7 separate regions of the Homo sapiens genome follow, and regions 1, 2, 3, 5, 6 and 7 are each linked to region 4. Evidence: promoter capture Hi-C in 16 types of primary human blood cells and fetal thymus (Javierre and others, 2016). All regions are on one chromosome and are shown on one strand. The core of a region is centred on a gene start or on the middle of the fragment in contact, and the rest is flanking DNA. Distances in the headings are between cores, read along the strand shown.

Region 1 (2,700 bases), core at 178-2,677, 1.5 Mb before region 4:
GAGATAATCCACACAAAGCACTAAGAACAGTGCATGACAATGTAACCTTCTGGCCTTCCTAGTAAGTTTGATTTTACTTGCCCCAATTTCCCTCTCTTGGAAGACTTCTAAAAAGAATTTTATGATAATGGAGTGCTTAGCAATTTTATTTCAGATTTATGACATATACTTAGTGTCTTATTGTGTTCATTTTGTATTTTTATTTAAGAACATTTATAATATAGAACCCACGCTAGTAATCACTAAAAAGCTGCCACTTCTTCCGCAGGTCTAAATAGTCAAATAGACATTGGGTACCTTGCATATTTATTCATTCATTTAATTCACTCATTCTCTCAGACACATGCCAGGTATGCTGAGAGGAATAAGGTGATGACACATCAGTGTTCTAACTATATCTACAAGAAGATGGGCAAAATATAGTGCCCAAACTGGTTTTTGAACTTCTATCTTGTGTGAATGCTAGCTGTGGTAGGAATTAAAATAATGGCATATAGAATTCCGAATATTCCACTGTTAGTCACTTGTAATCTGCTAACATTTAACACTTAAACGGTTGTGGACTAGAATAGCAGAATGGGCCAAAAATCCTGTCAATGAATGCAAGAGGATCTTAAGCAGCTTAATTGAAATTAAAAAAAGGTAAAGTTTCAAAAATTGTATTCAGCCTTTATTCTGTAATGAGAAGAAAAATGCCAGTGCTTTAATTATAAACACGATTTCCTAAAGCATTCCAAGTTTTCCTTGTAGACTTTCAGGGCCAGGGATTGACTATCCTTGTGCCTGCTTGGATAGAAAAGGGCTTGATAAAAGTGCTGTGTCCTCTGGCACAGTTTAATCACTTAATACCTTGTTCCAATTGAAAACATAACCCAACCCTATTCAGATGATGGAGCATCTACACTTGATCTGCCTATGGCTTGTGCAGTCACTGATATTTCCAAGGAAAGTCTTGTGATTATCAAAATGGAAATTAATTTCATAGACTTGAGGCTGAACTAAAAAAAAATGTTCATTGTAGTAATCTGCTGATGTTGATTCCTGAAAATGTTGCTTAGAGTAAATAAACTCAGCATCAGCCTGGAAGAATGGGTCTAGGTGAGGACTGCATATTGGGAATAGAGGTGAGATCGGGGTCAAGGGGTGAAGAATTGAGCAAAGATTCTTTGTTACCGGAGAAAAAGCTTCAACAATACTATCAGAGAGTATATATTTTTGTAGTTCTTGATTCTTATAACCACTGAAATGAACCAGCTGTCTTCCATAGAAAGTTATAAAATTATCAAAGGTATTAATTTACCAACTTCAATAGCTGAAGGAAAATTTAAGCTTGTTTTAGGGGCATGAAATTCTTATAGATAACAACATTTCTGAGAACATCATTTCCTACAACGACAAGCAGTACCAGTGAAGAACTTTACATCTCGTTTGATACCTTTAAATTACTTTAAGAACTAATCATTTCATCCATGCAAAGGAAGAGCTACAGTAAGGTGCAAATAAGATCACAAAGAAGTAAAGCTTCTGGCATAGTCTTATGCCTAAATTGTGATGTTTGCTTTGAAAAACACTGAATAATGACAGATCCAGTTACTCTGCACAGTGTCCAGAACTTTATGGACTTGTAAGACTAGATGGACTTGGGGAGCTCATCTGATTCAATTTCTTAATTGTATGGATAAATTAGGCCCCAGCAGAATACGGCATCTCATTTAAAGTCACTAGACATTTAGAGGAAGACCCAGAGTTAAAAATCTCTTCATTTTTAGCTTACTGATCTTTCCAACATTTTACATTCCAGGATGTCTAGAAAAATTATTACTTATATCCAAAATGTAAATGCAATGATTGCTGTGGTGGTGGTTGTGTTCTCACTTATGAAGGCTTCAAGTGTAGATCAATGGTTCTTTTTTGAATCATGAATTTCACTGGGTATCCAGTGAAAGAGATGACCTCCTTTACATAAAAGTAAAGATATATGCATAAAGATACACAATTCTTTTTCATCCTTACTGTATATTAATGGACTCTTAGACTATTAGGAGTGATGGATCAGGTTAGGAAGTCTTTGTAGACAGTGAAAACACAGAGTATTATTGGTTCTAATTATGTAAAATATTCCGGGGAAATTTTAATTTTGATATTATTATTGCCTTGTTATTTTTATATAACTGCAGAATACATTAAAGTAAAATATTTCAAAAACTCTACAATTTCTGAATTGGAGATTATTTAGTTAGATATCTCAAATTAAAAAAGCTGTGACATACTAAGAATAAAAGACTTGAATTTCCCTGGCTAGTTAATAGCAGAGAAAAGACTATATTATGTTGTATGCATAAATTTATACACATATACTAAACTTTAGAGCTGCTTTATGAGAAAAGCCAATTTAAAGGACAAATTTGACTTTTAAAGGATACATTTCTTGTCAATACTATCTATTCTGATTTCTGCTTCAACATATTGGGACATTATGAAGTAAAAGGAGGAATTAAATTAAGAAATGCCCATTAATATGTCTATATTTTTAAAATACCAGCTATTTCTAACTCAACTGTGTAAAAATACAGTATATTTACATTTACAAAAAATTTTGAAAGCAATTTTCATGAAGCTTTAAGTTCAAGAAATGTTAACATTACTTTCAAGGGAAAAGTATTTGAAAATGGAAATACTTTTTGAATTGTTAAATCGATA
Region 2 (2,735 bases), core at 150-2,649, 1.6 Mb before region 4:
TTCAAAATAGAAAAGAGATTAAAGAAGATAGAGGAAGACTATTCAATAGCGGAAGTTCCTGAAAATCAAAGAAAGTGGGCTCTAAAGCACAGATAGAGAGATTTGCTTTCTATAGAAGATGCTCTATTATTTCTGGGGTCTAAGAAAAGACAGATGTAGATATAAGTGACTTTGTGAGCTTATTGGTGGGAAGTGAGAGGGTTCCCATTTGATTGTATCTATTTTTCCTGTAAAGTAGATGTCCTCTACCGAGTGGAGAGTTAGACGTTTGAAGGGGGTTGGAGATGTGAAGAGAGGAAAGAAGGTTTGAATTAGCCATCATGGAGAATATGGGAAGGATTGATGAGAGTAAACTAAGAGGATTGTTGGACATTAAGACCCATTCACTGGAAGTGGGTGGTAACAGCATGAGTTCAGTTTTCTTTATTAGTGACTTTCAGGCCAGTTCTGCCATCACACTTCGTATAGTTAATGGTTTGTGATCACTACCACCTAGGATTAAAACCAGGCATATTACTTTTAAAGCTTGTCAAGCTAATGTTTTTAGTGTGTAGAGTAAATTGGAGAAGGATGAAGAAATCGCTTTCCACTTCATTTTGATATCCTTAATTTATGCAGAACATTTCTTGAGAATAGATTATAGATGTGTATACTAATTCATTTTAAGTTTATATTAGACTATGTGATCTTGAATACCTAATTGCCAGAATTTAACAGTTGTCCCTCAGTGTCTACACAGGGGATTTGTCCCAGGACCACCCCATACCAAAATCTGAGGATGCTCAAGTCCCTTATATAAAATGACATAGTATTTGCATATAACCTATGCACGTCCTCCTATATACTTGAAATCGTCTCTAGATTACTTATAATACCTAATACAATGTAAATGCTATGTTAATAGTTATACTCTATTTTTAAAATTTGTAGTATATTTTTAATTGTATTATTTTTTACTGTATTTTTTTCCTGCATATTTTTGATCTGCAGTTGTGGAGCCTGCAGATATGGAGGGCTGAGAGTAATGTATTTTAATAGTAAACTCATTTTTCTTAAAATGTAATTTTCAAAATGTACAGAAAGTTTTCCAGCAATGTCCCCAAATCCAAAATCATTCATTATTAAATTTGTTTGTTTTTTTTACACAGGGTGTGATAGGTATACAGCTGGTTGTTACCATGGTGATGGCCAGTGTCATGCAGAAGATTATACCTCACTATTCTCTTGCTCGATGGCTACTCTGTAATGGCAGGTAAGGCAAGGATAGGCTGATTTCAACTGACACTTTCAATCTCTAGTTTACCAAACTGATTAAATTCCTAGTTACTGTTTCTAAAACTTTAACAAAAGGAAGTCATAAGAAAAATCTAGCTTTCTTATTTCTCTTAAAAAATTAATTTTTTTTTTTTGGAGACAAGACCTTGCTATGTTGCCCAGGCTATTCTTCAACTCCTGGCTTCAAGCAAATCCTCCCACCTTGGCTTCCCAAAGTTCTGGGATTGCCTCATTATAGCTTCCTTATTACTCTTAGTTTGAGATATTAGTAGTTTATCTGTTTAGCACAAAGGTAATAGGGTCATGGACAAGAATTCAGTCCTCCCACCCCTACCTTCTTTCTTTTTCGGTCTGTGGGCACTGAAAACACCACATATTTTTCTAATTACCTTTAAAAAATTTGATCAACAAGGGGGTGAGAAATTGTAAATCCAAGTGCTTAAGTATTTTTGCTATTGTTCGAAGAAAATACTGAAAGCATATATTCTATTGGTGGCTCAGTCCAGAATTTATTATAATACAGATATTAGGAGTTCATAGTTTTACTGCAAAGAATTTTAAACTGTTTAATTTAGCAAGGAGGGGGATAAAGTTATGTTGTGGGATTTTAATTTTGTCTACTACACCATAGGCTCACAATCCCTACTCCTTCCACAAAGGAGCTAAGTAGGCTTGCTGAAACATGTACCTCCCACCCCTCAACAAAATTAGATTAAAAAAGTATAGGTATAGATACAGTGGGGAGAAATCAAGGAAAGTCTGCACACAGAAATACATGCCAAAATCCTGTGTAGTTGTGAAAGGTAAGTGATAAATTTGGTACCATGACTATTTATTTCAATTGTTCATTTCAGTTAAATAACCAAATTTTGTTACTGCTTTCTTTTGGTTAGGCCTATTGAAGTTAGAAAAACAATGGATACCTGTCCTAGTAATGATTTCATGTTCTACAAGACAAATACGCTTTTCATTCAGGGTCATCCCATTTACAAAGCTTAAATTTCCTTCACATAATTTATTTTCTATTTTAAATTATTTGTATTCTTCTCTGTGCTTTCTACTTTTTCCATATTGATGTTTAATATTGAAAAATATTATTCAGACTGCTTTAAAATTTTTTTGGAACAATGTGATACACAGGTGTGTGTGTGTATACTGAATGTGTGAGAGAGCTGTTCACAAATGCACATTTTGAGGAACAAAATAAATAATGGCTAAAGTTTTGGTAAAGTGTAAAATAAGTGAAAATAATCTTTAACTATTTTTTTACTGTGTAGGCTTAATATGCCTGTGCAATCTTGTTTACTGATTTAGCTTAGCAAAACCATTTTCGAAGATCAGGAAAAGATGAACATGAGCTGGGCAAATTATCATTAATTTGAAGTAAAAAGGGTCTCAGTAAACTAAGTAACATACATTAAGGCAGCTTACTTTCTCTTGAGAATTGCGTGTTTCTAAAC
Region 3 (2,763 bases), core at 140-2,639, 1.6 Mb before region 4:
GATGTGGAACATCTTTTCATATTCTTATTTGCTGTCTGTATGTCTTTGGTGAGGTGTCTTTTAAGGTCTTTGGTGCATTTTTAAAATCAGGTTGTTTTCTTGTTGAGTTTTAATTAAGAGTTTGTTATATTTTGTATAACAATCCTTATCAGATATGTCTTTTGCAGATATTTTCCCCTGGTCTGGTTTGTTTTCTCATTTCCTTGACATTGTCTTTTACAGAGCAGATTTTAATTGTAATGAAGTCCAGCTTATCAGCTCTTTCTTTCATGGATCATGCCTTTGGTTTTGTGTCTAAAAAGTTGTTGCCTTGTCCACAGCCATCTATGTTATCTAACAGGACTTTTATAACTTTGTGTTTTACATTTAGGTCTATGTTCTATTTGAGTTAACTTTTGTGAAGAGTGTAAGGTGTGTGTCTAGAGTCTTTTTTTTTTTTTTTTTTTTTGCACATGAATGTCTAGTTGTTTCAGTACCATTTGGTGAAATTTGTTTGTTTTTTTTTTTTCTCCATTGTATTGCCTGTGCCCTTTTGTCAAAGATCATTTGACTATATGTGGGTCTATTTCTGGCCCCTCTATTCTATTCTGTTGATCTGTTTATTTCTTCTTTCATCAATAACACAGTCTTGATTATTCTAGCTTTCTAGTGAATCTTGAAGTTGGTTAATGTCAGTCCTCCAACTTTGTTCTTCAGTATTGTGTTGGCTCTTCTGGGTCTTTTGCCTCTTCAAATTAACCTTAGAACATTTCTTTCTTTTCTTTTCTTTTCTTTTTTTTTGATACCCTTAAAATAACTTGCTTGGATTTTGATTGTAATTGCATTGAATCTGTAGATTAAGTTGAGAAGGACTGCCTCCTTGGTAATATCCTTTTCATGAACATGGAATATCTCTCCATTTATTTATTCTTTGAATTCAGTTATCAGAGTTTTGTAGTTTTCTTCATACAGGTCTTGGCATATTTTATTAGATTTATACCAAAGTATTCATTTTTTTCTGGGTGCTAATGTAAATAGTATTTTTAATTTCAAATTTCACTTGTTCATTGCTAATATATAGGAAAGTGATTGACTTGTATATTAACTTTGTATCCTGCAACCTTGCTATAATTGCTTATTGGTTCCAGGATATGCCACCTATTTTTAGTCTTTTAAGTTATTGCAGTTCTTAGAGAATACAATTACAACTCACTTACCCAATGATTTTTATGTTCACATCTTTTAATTATATAAAACAGACGTAGTAGTTCTGTTGTTAAAGTAGGTTAAATATCTTTTGTGTTTTGGCTATAAACTATAAGATTTAGAAAACCTGAAACAACTTAAACTTTTGCTACTTTGAGACTTGGGATCTCAGTATCTTATTTCAATTAAAAAAATTCTTAATCATTATGAAAATCGATGTGCTTGTATGCTGCTATTTCTAAAAATGACTTTGTGAAAAGTGGCCTGGCATGGTGGCTCATGGAAGGCTAAGGCAGGAGGGTCACTTGAGGCCAGGAGTTTGAGACCAATCTGGACAACATAGTGAGACCTCTTCTTTACAAAAGGTTTTAAAAATTAGTGAGGCGTGCTGGCAAGCACCTGTAGTTCCAGCTACTTGGGAGGCTGAGGTGGGTAGATCACTTGAGCCCAGGAGTTTGAGATTGCAGTGAGTTGTCATCAGGCTGCTGTGCTCCAGCCAGGGAAACAGAGTGAGACCCTGACTCTTATAAAACACAAAAATAAAAACTAAAAATGACTATTTGAAAAGTAAAAATAAATACATGGCATTGAAAGTGTGCTTGAACTAGAATTCTATGATTTTTATAGTTTGATTCAAGTTTCTGTGATTCTGATTATGTAAATTTGGAAATACTGTTGAACATTTAGCTGAATGTACATTATGGGATACAAAGAGAGGAATATTCAGTTTCTATGGAATTCAAGAAGGGTTTCATAAAGAAAGGTTTGGATTAGATTTTTGAGGGTAAGTAGAAGTATGTCCGTTGGGTAAGAAATTGAATTTTACTTTTCCTCAATAACGATAACAGCTGCATTTATTTTACATTTAATATTTACCAGGTATTATTCTACATTCCACTTATATTGACTCATTTAAATCTTTATGAAGTAGTTAAATTCTGTTTTTTTAAACCTTTATCTTACAGATGTAGAAATGGAGGCTCAGCAAGATTGGAGTAACTTCTCCAAAATCACACAGCTAGAGATGACAGAATTTGACTTTTAACCCAGGCTTCTTGTCCCTTGTGCTGTTGTGCCAGTCTTTTGTTTGTCTTGAGTAAGATTCACTTATGAAAAAATTGAATTTCACAAGTTCAATCTAGTGTTTGAAATTCAAAAACATTTTCCTATAGAAATCATAATTAGTAACGATATTTTTAGAAAATGTTTCCCGAACCTAGTTAACACCTAATATATCTCTATAGTATTCAAGCAATTAATCATTACTATCCGGCATAGCAGTACTGATTGACATTTTTAACTAGGTGTCAAACACATCTGCCACTGCTGCAGTAAGTCATAAGATTCTTTCATATTTCTTCTACCTTAACTGCATCCACTGAAGGCACTGCTTTACACCAAAGCCTTAGTTTCTCTTAGGCCTGAAGATGCACTTCTAGTAACACTGATGAGTTGAAGAGCAATTTGAGAAATTGGGGATGAGTTGTGCTGAACTTGAATTTCTTATCAGTGTAAGCACTTAGTGAGTTACACTTGTTCCAAGCCTATCTCACGGTTATCCCAGTTCTTTTCCTGAGG
Region 4 (2,724 bases), core at 40-2,539:
AATCATAACATCGTTTTAAACATTTATCTTTCAAATCCTATGACCTTCATCACAAAACACTACATGGCAAGAAATAATCTGGCTTTACTAAGCACTAGGCAATGAATGGTCTTGAGGACTCAAACGTCAAATAGTGAGAAGTTTCTTACTTTAGAAAATCGAAAAAACTACTGTCCTAAGTAGTCACCTTAGAAGATACATGGCAATGTTAAGTGCAATACAGCTCTTTTTTTTTCTTTTTTTTTTTTTTTGAGACGGAGTCCCGCTCTGTCCAGGCTGGAGTGCAGTGGCCCGATCTCGGCTCACTGCAACCTCCACCTCCCGGGTTCAAGCGATTCTCCTGCCTCAGCCTCCCGAGTAGCTGGGATTAGAGGCACACACCACCACGTCCGGCTAATTTTTTTGTACTTTTTAGTAGAGACAGGGTTTCGCCATGTTGGCCAGGCTGGTCTGGAACTCCTGACCTCAGGTGATCCGAACGCCTTAGCCTCCCGATTACAGGCGTGCGCCACCGCACCTGGCCCACAGTTTTTTTTGTTTGTTTGTTTTTCATTACCAAGCACCTTCTCTGGCCTTTATGACTAGGCCTCGTGTGACCCTCCGAGATTGTTACTGCTATGTGGTTTAAGTTATTTACACCTGAGGCCAAACCCAGCCTTAACTGAGGTGAAGGGTTAGTACTTCTAACTTAGGCAGCTAGTTTAAAAAGCCTGTTCCATAACCAGAGGCCCTGATTTCCTCATGATTTTCCAATGACCTTCATTTCGGGTCCGATGACCTCCAGCTCGGATTTAACCAACACACCTACAGCCGTGGCCTCCCGGAGCCATCTCAGGGCTTTCTGCGGGGCGGGGGAGGGGGCGTCAGGTGGCTGATGGAGGCAGGGCTTCCGGATCTACCTGCCCATTCCTTTAGCGGCTACGCGCTAGGATGCCCAGCTTCCTCACTGGTCCTTGGGCTAAGTGGAATGCTAGTCTGCGTCTCAGCCTGGTTTCTGGCTATCATCTCCCACGCCACAGCCCGGAGGCGGCCTTGCAGGTGCGCGAGTCACAGCCAAGCGCCCCCTCCCCCAACGAAGCCGTGCCCCTTACACACTAACCTTCCCAGGGCCCTCCTCATAGTGGCTCCTACGGACCACAGAGGTTGTGAACCTCCGGATGCTCTGGCCCAACATACCGCTGCTGGAAGCTCTGCGAAAGGCGCAGAGAATGAGGACAGATGAAATGGCGGCACCTCACCAAGACCTTTTTTTTCACGACCTTGTTCCCCGGTGCGCAAGGACTGAAAAGAAAGATGGGAAATGGGGCGGAGCCTTGAGGAAACGCGACAAAGCGGAAATCGCCCTGGATTGTGGGAATTGTAGTTCAGACCATTGCGGAGCCTTATCAGCCCCCGAAGGATTGTGGGAAATGTAGTTTCGCGCCAGGCTTAGGTCTAGGATTCCTGGGGCCTGTTACCGGAAACGATTTTATTGAATCAAGTGAAGCAGTTTCACCCCGTATACTCTAGTCTGTTGAAAAGGACAATAAACCCATCCCTTTTCTCTTCTTTCTTTCTTTTTTAAAAATAAAGTATATGCTAGGTGTCAATGATTTCGAGGACTTTTGCCAATGCTGAGAGATATGTGCTAATGATCCTAGCTGAAGAAACAAAGCATAAACACAAGTAATCAAACAACGTGCAGCACAAAGGACTTCAGAGAGAAAACTGAAATGCTAAGGGAATGATCACTAAAGATAATGGGAATCGAATAAAAAAGAAGGAAGAACAAAGGGCAGGGAAAACTCAAGTCTGGTATGAGTACAGCATGTGTGAGGAGTAGAAGGGAAAAGTGGCCTCTGACACCTGGAGCTAGCCTGGACTAGGAACTGGTGTCCGCCTGATGAACGTACACAATTTCAGCAAGCATTAGCATCCAACAAGACCACTCTGACAGTGTTCATTAAGAAAAGAATATGATCACTGTGTAATCACATCTGAACACAGATAAAACATTGTCCAAGCCACGAAAATGACCGGACATCACCCTATCTGGTTTAATTTGATGACTTCTGCTTCTTTACCAATTACAATCTTAGCCTTGATCTAGCCTTTCTTCCTCCTAAGATTTGGTAAGGTAGCCAATATTAGGAGAAAAAAATCCCAAATCCAATAAGCATTTTCTAATATTTTACAGAGAACCCTTACTGCAATGAATAATAAACCCCGTTTGTCAATTACATGTGTGCTTCTGGTGGTCTTTGACCAGAAGGTATTGAGAAGAAACCAGTGATAAATGAACCTGGGAAAGTGGTGTTAGGTTAGATTGTGAAAGGCCCTGGTAACCTAAATGTTATGTTATTCATCTGTGGGGGAGTGTATATTGCCTCACGTGTCTCATTTATATAGCATTAGGAAACAATTCCAATAAGACCTAAGGTTTGCTTTGAAAAGGGCATAACATATATGCTCTTTTCGTCTTTTTTTTTTTTTTTTTTTTCAGTTTTTGGAAGAGAACAACCATGCCCCTCCCCCCCAAAAAAACACTTAAAAAAAACACTTAAATTCATATTTTGTTTCAACAAGTAGCTTCTTTTTGAGTAGGGGTTCATGAAATGCATCATAACTGGTGTCCTCTACCACCTAATTTATAGAAGTTATGTGACATTCCATTTTTTTTTAACATTCCGTTCACTGCCTTTACATATTAAAGAATTCTGATTTAACTATAATTGAGAAACTTTT
Region 5 (2,700 bases), core at 124-2,623, 1.9 Mb before region 4:
CCTAGAACTATGAAAAATGAATTTATGTTATCTATAAGCCACCCAGTCTATGGTATTTTTTATAGCAGCCAGAATAAACTAAGACACAATGTACATGTGAAAAACCCTAGTTTGTTATAATAAACTGAATTCCTACAAAGCAAAATTTCAATTGTACAGCTTTTTTTCCTTATTTATTTTTAAATTGTAATTCCTGAAATAAAATTTTTGTTCTTTTGTAATGTGACTATTGGAGTTGTATTTGTGAGTTGTATTTATCGTCCATGTGAATGGCTTCTGTTCAGAGAAATATTTTAGAGGCATTACGGCTTAAGAACTTAATCTGTGGAACCTGATGGAATTGTGTCTGAACTTTAGTGAAGTCACTTAGCAGGTGCTATGGTCTGAATATTTGTATCTCCCCAGAATTTATATGATGAAACATAATCACCAATGTGGTGATAATGGGAGGTGGGGTCTTTGAGGGATGATTAGATCATGAGGGTGAGCCCTTATAAAAGAGGCCCAAGAGAGATGCCTTGTTCCTTATACCATGTGAGGACACAGCGCAAAGAATCAGAAAGCAGACATCAACTCTGCCAATGCCTTGAACTTTCTAGCCTCCAGAACTGTAAGAAGTAAATGTTGTTTATAAGCTACCCAGTTTATGGTATTTTGTTGTAGCAGACTGAATGATCTAAAACACTGGGTTTGAAACCTTGGGCAAATTGCTTAACCATAGTTAAGTCATAGTTTGCTTATTCATAAAATGGGCATAATGATACTTACCCCAAAGGTTATTGTAAAGATTAAATGGAAAGTGATATATGAGTAAATCCCTTAGCAAACTTTCTGGCATACAGCAAATCACCAAGATAGGATAGAAAAATTAGCATTTTAAATTTTATGTGAATTACATGGGAAATGAATATAAATTTTACACAATATAAATGGTTTGCATATAATACAAATTTAAACTACTACTGTAAAGTCTATAATGATAGATGTTTACACATCCCAGGGCTACCAGATATTATATAGTTCTTTGGTCCTTTTCCTTCCTTACTTCTTTCCATTTTTTTTTTAAGAGACAGGATCTCGCTCTGTTGCCCAGGCTGGAGTGCAGGGGTGAGATCATAGTTCACTGTAACCTTAAATTCCTGGGCCCAAGAGATCCTCCTGCCTCAGCCTCCTGAGTAGCTAGTACTATAGGCACCCCTCACTATGTCTTGCTAATTTTTTTTTCTTTTTTTGTGGAGATGGGGTCTCCCTATGTTACCCAGGCTGGTCTTGAACTCCTGCCCTTAAGTGATTCTCCTACCTCTGCCTCCCCAAAGAGTCAGTAGTATAGGTGTGAGCCAACACATCCAGATTTTTCTTTTTTTTTCTTTCTTTCTTCTTTCTTTCTTTCCTTCTTTCTTATCTTTTCTTTTCTTCCTTTCTTTTCTTTCCTTCCTTCCTTCCTTTCTTTCTCTCTCTCTCTTTCTTTCTTTCCTTCCTTCCTTCTTTCTTTCTTTTCTTTCTTTCTTTCTTTCTTTCTTTCTTTCTTTCTTTCTTTCTCTCTCTTTCTTTCTTTCTTTCTTTCTCCTGCTTCTGCTTCTGCCTCTTCTTCTTCTTCTTCCTCCTCTTCTTCTTCTTTCTCTCTCTCCCTCCCTCCCTCCCTCCCTCCCTCCCTTCCTCTGTTTATTTCTTTCTTTCTCTCTCTTTCTTTTTCTCTTCTTTACTCCTTTCCTTTCTTTTCCTTTTCTTTCCCTCCTGGAAATTCTTGATTTAAACAGTCTTGGGAGGAAGCCAAATACATAAAGCAGAGGAAAACAGAGATGCTATGGGGATTGGTGGGGAAGCATGGTGCCCAAACCTCCATCCATTCAATCACTCGTCCTGCTTCCCATCTCCTAATGGCATGGGAAAGGGCACCAAAGAAATCCCAAAGACTCTCTGGAAGAATTTGAAAACCATTTCCTAATTCTCTGCTTGTCAGTAGAAGAAAATGGATCCCAAAGCCCTGGTTTTCTAGTCATTAAGATGGCTGGTGAGAGAGTCAGGATGACTTCCAAGTGTAATGGTCATTGTGCTATGACAACCTGCCTGATTAATCCTCTGCTAAATATATCTAAGGGGGTACGAGACATCTGAATCACTGAGATATTCATTCAAACATGACCCCTGGAAGTTGCATATCTGGACAAGAGAAAATTCACAGACTGCAATTTAAAATCACCAAGTAGTCCTGAAAACTTTAGTGTCCATAAGACTGTTTCTGCTATTTGCATGAAGCCCAGTGGTCCTGTGATAAGCACAGAGGTAAGATGGCCTTTAAAAAAAAAGGTTCTGGAGAGGAGTTAAGGAACTGAGAGTTGGGACCATTGCAATTGCTCTGATTGAGTTGTAGTTTTAAAGAAGGAACTCAGTTCAATCTAGATTTCTTGGTACTCCCAACATTAGTTAGAATCTACTAAGAAAATATATCCAACATGAGAACCTAAAAACTATCAAATGTCCAATTCAGGCTACTTTTTATAATTAAAATAAAGAACAAAGAAATGAGGAAAGACTAAATTAGTGTGTCTCCTCAGACTAGAGAGGCAAAGGCTGAGATGATATAGCTGAAGCTCATGAAATAGCAAAGAATATATACAGAGTGGTTGAGCATAGACTACTCATTAAATAAAACATGTGAGAAATAGGTGGACTTCTTAAACCGATAAATTTGAGACTGAT
Region 6 (3,087 bases), core at 10-2,509, 1.7 Mb before region 4:
GGATTACTTGTTTTAGAGGAAGCCAGGAAGCTCTATGAAGAGGTACATGTGGTGAGGAAGTGCGGTATTCTGCTAAACAGCTAGTGAAGAACTAAAGTGTCCTGCCAATAGCATGTGAAAGTGTATCCTCTGGTACTAGTTAAAACATCAGATGATTACAGTCTCAGCTGATGGTTTGACTGATAACTTCACAAGAGACAATGAATCAGAACCACTCAGCTATGCTGCTTCCGGATTTTTGACCTTCAGACACTACATGAGATAATGAATATTTATTGCTTTGCATGTTGTATTTTGGGGCAGTTTATTATGCAGCAATAGAAAATCAGTATACATTTTGGTACTCAGAAGTGGGGTGTTAGCAAAAACCTAAAATGTAAGTGTGGTTTTAAAACTGGCAGTGAACAGAAGGTAGAACTTGGAGGAGAGTGTTAATGAAAGTTTGAAGAGCTTTGAAGAAATTTTTTATAGAAGCATAATAGATAACCTTTGAGGAGGCTGCAGGTGACATCTTAACAGATTAGAAAACTCTTCTTGGAAACTAGAGGGAAGGAGATCCTTGTTACATAATGGCAGAAAGTTTAGCAAATTTGTTATCCACAGATATGTACAAAGTAGAAAAAATGCCTAATTAACTCATTGATCTAGCAAAGGAGATTGCCGGCCAAGTGTTAAATATTTCATGTGTATTTTTTCTTGTTGCTGATAGTAAAATGTGTGAGAAGAGAGACCATCAAAGTAAGGACTGTTAAACAAAAAGGAGCCATGGCTGGGCATGGTGGCTTATACCTAAAATCCCAGAACTTTGGGAGGCTGAGGTGGGAGGAATGCTTGAAGCCAGGAGTCCAAGATCACCTGGCCAACACAGCAAAAAACAGACTCTATTACAAACAAACAAACAAAAACAAGTCAAAACTTGCTGGATTTGAAGATTCCCAGCCTGTGCAGATGACAAATGTGCTAAAATTGGGGAATATCTCTGAGCAAAAAGCAAATCTAGGGCACTGCCAGTAAAACATAAAGTTGAGGCTGTAGTTATAAAGTCCTTTAATAGCTCAGAAAGATCTTAAGTTGTGCCTCAGAGTATTTTCATCAGACAAACGATGTGTCTCAGAAAATCTCTGAATAACATCACAGGTTTTTAAAAAGTTTAAGGGTATTTTCATCAGCAAAAGCTTGAGGCAGAGTTTATGTGGGACGAGATGTGTGGTTGTTGCTTTTGTCTGATGGAGTGAACTCAAAATTCACAAGTGAGCCACAAAGTTTTTAAGAGAAGTCTATTAGCAGAAACATGGCCAGCCTGGACTGAAAGGCACAGAGAGAACCAAATGGAAAGAAGCTTGTGGGACATCCAAGCTTCTATAGGCAGAAAGCAGGCAGAAGTGTAAACAAGAAAAAGAAAGGGTGACTCAGTGAGTAGATCCAAGATCCCAGAAGGCAGAGCTAAGAGAATTCTAGGCCTTGAAACTTGACCAAGCAACTGCCAATCTGTGCCCAGGTGGGTTTCAGAATTTCTGTGAACCTATGTACCTCCAATATTCCCTCTTTTTAAATATACATGTCCACATTTATTATCCTATTCATTTTCTATTACATGTGGAAGCAGAGACTGTGTCTTTAGTGTATGAGTCTTCAGATCAAAAAGAACTCTTCTTGAGGAGCTGTACTTAAGTACACCTATGAGTGTCATCCACAATTGGAACTGATTTAGATTTCTAGACCTTGAACTAATGGTGTCATAGGATGAGAGCTTTGGAGAGCTTTTGGAGGGGATGAATATATTTTGCAAATCAAGAACTATCAATCATTGGGGCCAAATTGTGACAGCTAGCTTCCCAGTATTCATGCTCTTGTGTAATCTCCTCCCACATATTGTCAGGGAAATGTCTGTGTGACTAACATTATATAGTAGAAGTAATGTTACATCACTCTGAATGATCATGGTTTCTGTCTCTCTCTTGGATCACCTGTTCTAGAGAAAGCCAGTTGCCATGTTGTGAGAAAACACAGGCAGCTCTACGAATGAGCCCTCTAGGAAGTGGATCCTCTAACACCAGTCAAACTTTCAGACTACAGCCCAGCCAACATCTTGACTGCAAATTCATGAGACCTTGGGCCAGAACATCTAGCTAAACCACCTGTGGATCCTAAGAAAGTGTATAAATATTTTTAGATTTAAGCTAGGGTGATTTGTTATACAGTAAGATAACTAATCCAAGTTCACAGGTTGCTTCATATTGAACTAAGTCTCTTGTAATCTACGGTTTTCTCCACTTGTCCTTCTCGTCTCCTTTTCTCCTGCAACATATTTGTTGAAATTAATTTGTCCCAATATTCTCCAAAATTGGATTTTTCATTTATATTTTCCATTCCAAAATATTACGTTGTGGTAGGTTTCATTGGCTTAAAGTTTTAATGGTGTTTATATTTTCTGCAAATTGGATGGATCTAAAGACCTGATTAGTATCAGGGTCAAATTTTTGATAAGATTTTAACATCAGTAGTGGTGTTTTTCCATTAAGAAACATATGTTTTCTTGTCTGTCATGTTAGCAGCTGTTGAAATGCAATAAATAAATCCATTTGTTCATTAGGAATTTCAAAATGGCAATTTTCTATCATTCCTCCATTTATTAGCTAGAATACATGTACAAAGAGAACCCTCTCCTCATCTACTATGTGGTTACTTACAGTTCACATACAAAAGGCAGGACAAATGCCTAATTACTTTAAAAACAAAACAAAACTGATTTTCAAAATAATGAATTGATGCAACAGCATCTTCTACTGTTGACCAACTAAATGCTGTTTGTTTTACAATCATTATGTACTCAGATTTAAAGACACTTGATATGTTCCAATCAATTGCATTTACTGTCCTTATTGACACTCAAATGGTCTCATCTATGGCCAGAAGGATGCTTTTCAGTTGTCTCCTGAGTCCATTTGATATGACACCCTCGTAGTCTCTAATAGCTTCCTTGCTATCTTGCACAAGGTATTCCAGGCTCATCTTGTATGTTTCCTGGGCATGACTGAAATTAACCGCTATTCTGAGGGTTTATGGAGTCTTGAACAGAGGTTTTTA
Region 7 (2,743 bases), core at 25-2,524, 1.9 Mb before region 4:
CTTTTTAATTTTAATTGTAATTTAAAATTCTTTTTAATTTTTAATAAAAATGTATATAAAATGACCAATATTTTTGTTGTTGTTAGCCAGGACTTTTCTTCAATGATGAGTGTGCTGACTGGATTTCCATATTGTCTTTCATGCAATACCAAATAGATCATGCTTTGTGCAGGGTTTTTCCATGCAGCAAGAATGCAAAGGCATGGGTGAAACCATATGACTGCAGACTCTTCTGGCTTCTTAACATTGCCCTTTGCAAATATTTCACTTTCATCTCTCTTAGCAAACCTTTTTCAAGAGACTTACCTTTATTAAGTCTTTCCAAAATACTCTTTTTCATTTCCATACAAGCACCTTTCATTCTTGTCACACTCATATTTTACTAATGTGTGGTATTTAATTAAATAATTGTATAATTCAAATAACAAGCACAAATGGCAGAAAAAATTTAAGAATAAACATAAGTGATTATTACAAGCATGTAATTCATCAAGTTAAAGCACAAGACTAGAGAATTCTAGAGAATAGCCTACTCATCATGAGTTTTGAGACTTTTAGACAAGGCCTAGAGAATCAGTATATTGGACACAAATCATGTGTATCTTCTCAGATCCCCTAGTTGACATTTCTTCTTCTCTTTCTCAGGTGGTATTTACTTGTACCAAGTCACCCTTCCACTTTAGATATGAATAAAATGCCATGTTGCGAGCATGGGATTTGGCCTCCTGAGTGGTTACCAGGGGACCTAAGAGTCCATTGGCAGTGCTGGGGAGATGTCCCCTTGTGTGATGAATCATGACCAATAGGAAATGAGAGATGGGAGGCCTCTCACAGGTGAATCTCTCCTTTCTTCATTCCATGGACAGCAATAAGGTAAGCTTCTCCTTATAACCTTTTTAGGAAGAAGTCCCTTTGTGCTGAGTTAAGTCTGCCGGTGTACTGTTGTCAACTCTTTTGAACTCTGTGTGAAGTGGTGACCATCATGATAATGATTTGCATTACTCCATGTCTTTTATTGCCTCACTTCTCTCTTTCTCTTCATCTTTATTACCCTGGGCTTATATGTCCATAGTGTCATCACTTTAATCCCTGCCTCAGGCTCTGTCTTCTAGAGGAACCATACAAAGACAGTCAGTTAATCTGATGAGTCAGTTAAAGAGGTTGATTTAAAAAGCTTCTATGGAATAGCATTAGTGCTAGGCAAGGAGACAGTAGGAGCCCAGAGAAGTGGTGGAATATCTAGAGTCATTCACAGTCTGTTGGACTTATTCAGGGAATACAACATATATTGAGATATCTAAAATTAATGAGTCCTAAAGGACAAAAATAGATCATTGGAGGAAACAAGGTTTTCAGTCTGGTAGGAAAGCTTAGGCATGATGAAGGAATAATAATACTATTAATAAAAATCATAACTAATATTTATGGATTCTTACTAAGTTCCAGCTACTATATTAAGTACTTTCGAAAACTTAATTAGATGAGATACAGTCAATTTTACTAATTTTTTATGGAGAAATTGTGGCTTAGGAAACTTAAGAGGTTTTCACATAGTCACTCATCTAAGAAATAGTGGAGCACAAATTCAAACCCAGGGTTTGACTCTTAACCACAGGCTTAAGCAAATATGGGAAAATATTTAAATGGAGCATGAGGCACATTATAGAAGTAGAGAGCAGTCCAGAAAACTGGGAACAATATCTCAGACTCCAAACAGGAGGACCACTTCATAAAACAGGACGGCCTGGGTATGAGTGCTGATGCAGGGTCAGAGGCTCTCTGAACAACTGTTCAGAACTTAAGCAGCCTCCCGGTACAGTAAATCAGATCTAGCTAGAATAGGCTCACTCTTTTTAGAAGAGACTGCTTCTACTTTTTATAGTAATTGTTGCAAATGACTAGATCTTTCAAATTTATTATTTCATTTATCCCATTATTCAACAAATATTTAAGATTTTCTCTGAGCCATGCAAAATTATTGGCACTGTGGATATACAGATAATTAAGGTACAGTCCAAACCTTAAGGAATTCACAGGCTGATAGAGAGGACAGCCAAGTACTCAAAAATGTATAAAGGAATAGCAGTAACATGGGAGTATGGGGAGCACAGAGGAGGGTACTGACCCCTGTCTGAAGTTAGAGGAATGGGGAGACTTCCCAGAGACAGTGAAGAAATTGATTCCTGAGAATGGGACATATTTTTCCCGGGAGACAAAGGGAAAGGAAGAACTCTCTAGGCAGAAGAAACAGCACTGGGAAAGAAATGGAATCATGAGCAAGTATACTGCATTCCAGAAACATGTGACAGCATGGTAGATTTGGAGTATAGGCAGAGTGGCCATGCAATTCACTAACAAAGTCAGAACGATAGTTTTGAGAGTGAAAGGGGTGCTTTTCCTCACTATTTTGGGACAATACAAATAAAAAGGAACTGTCCCAGGTAAACCAGGATGTTTGATCACTCCAAGTAAGGAGACTACAGGATGGAAAGGGTGTTGGAATTACTTAGACTTGAGTCTGAATCCAGGTGTGGATGATCAGAAGCAGTGTCTGTGTTCAGTCATCTTTGTAGCTGATTATGCCTCAGTGTCCTCCTTTGAATCAAAATGAATTGCTTGAAATTAATAATTTCTTCCTTGTAGATTTGTGTGATGACAAAATGAGATAACAGAAATAATACAATTGACACAATGCCAGCCTGTAGTATGTGCTCAACAAATATTGTTTCTCTGTGTGTACTCT

The links. Contacts are between HindIII fragments. The CHiCAGO score rates a contact against its expected background, and 5 or more counts as called.
Region 1: a fragment that was not itself captured here is called in contact with the fragment with the promoter of COX7C in region 4 in 1 of 17 cell types (total CD8 T cells); the score reaches 5.7 in total CD8 T cells.
Region 2: a fragment that was not itself captured here is called in contact with the fragment with the promoter of COX7C in region 4 in 3 of 17 cell types (total CD4 T cells, activated CD4 T cells and non-activated CD4 T cells); the score reaches 6.8 in total CD4 T cells.
Region 3: a fragment that was not itself captured here is called in contact with the fragment with the promoter of COX7C in region 4 in 8 of 17 cell types (non-activated CD4 T cells, total CD4 T cells, total B cells and 5 more); the score reaches 26.8 in non-activated CD4 T cells.
Region 5: a contact is called between a fragment that was not itself captured here and the fragment with the promoter of COX7C in region 4, in 1 of 17 cell types (non-activated CD4 T cells). The highest score is 5.8, in non-activated CD4 T cells.
Region 6: a fragment that was not itself captured here is called in contact with the fragment with the promoter of COX7C in region 4 in 8 of 17 cell types (total CD4 T cells, non-activated CD4 T cells, activated CD4 T cells and 5 more); the score reaches 21.6 in total CD4 T cells.
Region 7: a contact is called between a fragment that was not itself captured here and the fragment with the promoter of COX7C in region 4, in 2 of 17 cell types (non-activated CD4 T cells and total CD4 T cells). The highest score is 9.8, in non-activated CD4 T cells.

The regions. Positions count from the first base shown.
Region 1 is chr5:88,146,611-88,149,310 of GRCh38, reverse strand. No RefSeq gene overlaps it. Among named protein-coding and RNA genes, the nearest start is that of TMEM161B, 120 kb to the left of the region's middle. The HindIII fragment of the contact is 192 bases long and covers 1,332-1,523 here.
Region 2 is chr5:88,239,330-88,242,064 of GRCh38, reverse strand. TMEM161B (transmembrane protein 161B) reads left to right here. Exons shown (of 12, transcript NM_153354.5): 2 at 1,149-1,252. Among named protein-coding and RNA genes, the nearest start is that of TMEM161B, 28 kb to the left of the region's middle. The HindIII fragment of the contact is 1,744 bases long and covers 528-2,271 here.
Region 3 is chr5:88,259,416-88,262,178 of GRCh38, reverse strand. All of the region lies in intron 1 of TMEM161B (transmembrane protein 161B), which reads left to right. Among named protein-coding and RNA genes, the nearest start is that of TMEM161B, 8.0 kb to the left of the region's middle. The HindIII fragment of the contact is 4,836 bases long and covers 1-2,763 here.
Region 4 is chr5:86,616,506-86,619,229 of GRCh38, reverse strand. It overlaps COX7C (cytochrome c oxidase subunit 7C), which reads right to left and starts at 1,289. Exons shown (of 3, transcript NM_001867.3): 1 at 1,100-1,289. The coding sequence starts at 1,174. RefSeq lists enhancers at 199-864, 1,162-1,251, 1,184-1,478, 865-1,530, 1,542-1,621. The HindIII fragment of the contact is 5,230 bases long and covers 1-2,724 here.
Region 5 is chr5:88,513,309-88,516,008 of GRCh38, reverse strand. No RefSeq gene overlaps it. Among named protein-coding and RNA genes, the nearest start is that of LINC02060, 76 kb to the right of the region's middle. The HindIII fragment of the contact is 7,891 bases long and covers 1-2,700 here.
Region 6 is chr5:88,278,598-88,281,684 of GRCh38, reverse strand. All of the region lies in intron 2 of TMEM161B-DT (TMEM161B divergent transcript), which reads right to left. Among named protein-coding and RNA genes, the nearest start is that of TMEM161B-DT, 11 kb to the right of the region's middle. The HindIII fragment of the contact is 164 bases long and covers 1,178-1,341 here.
Region 7 is chr5:88,496,803-88,499,545 of GRCh38, reverse strand. No RefSeq gene overlaps it. Among named protein-coding and RNA genes, the nearest start is that of LINC02060, 59 kb to the right of the region's middle. The HindIII fragment of the contact is 195 bases long and covers 1,177-1,371 here.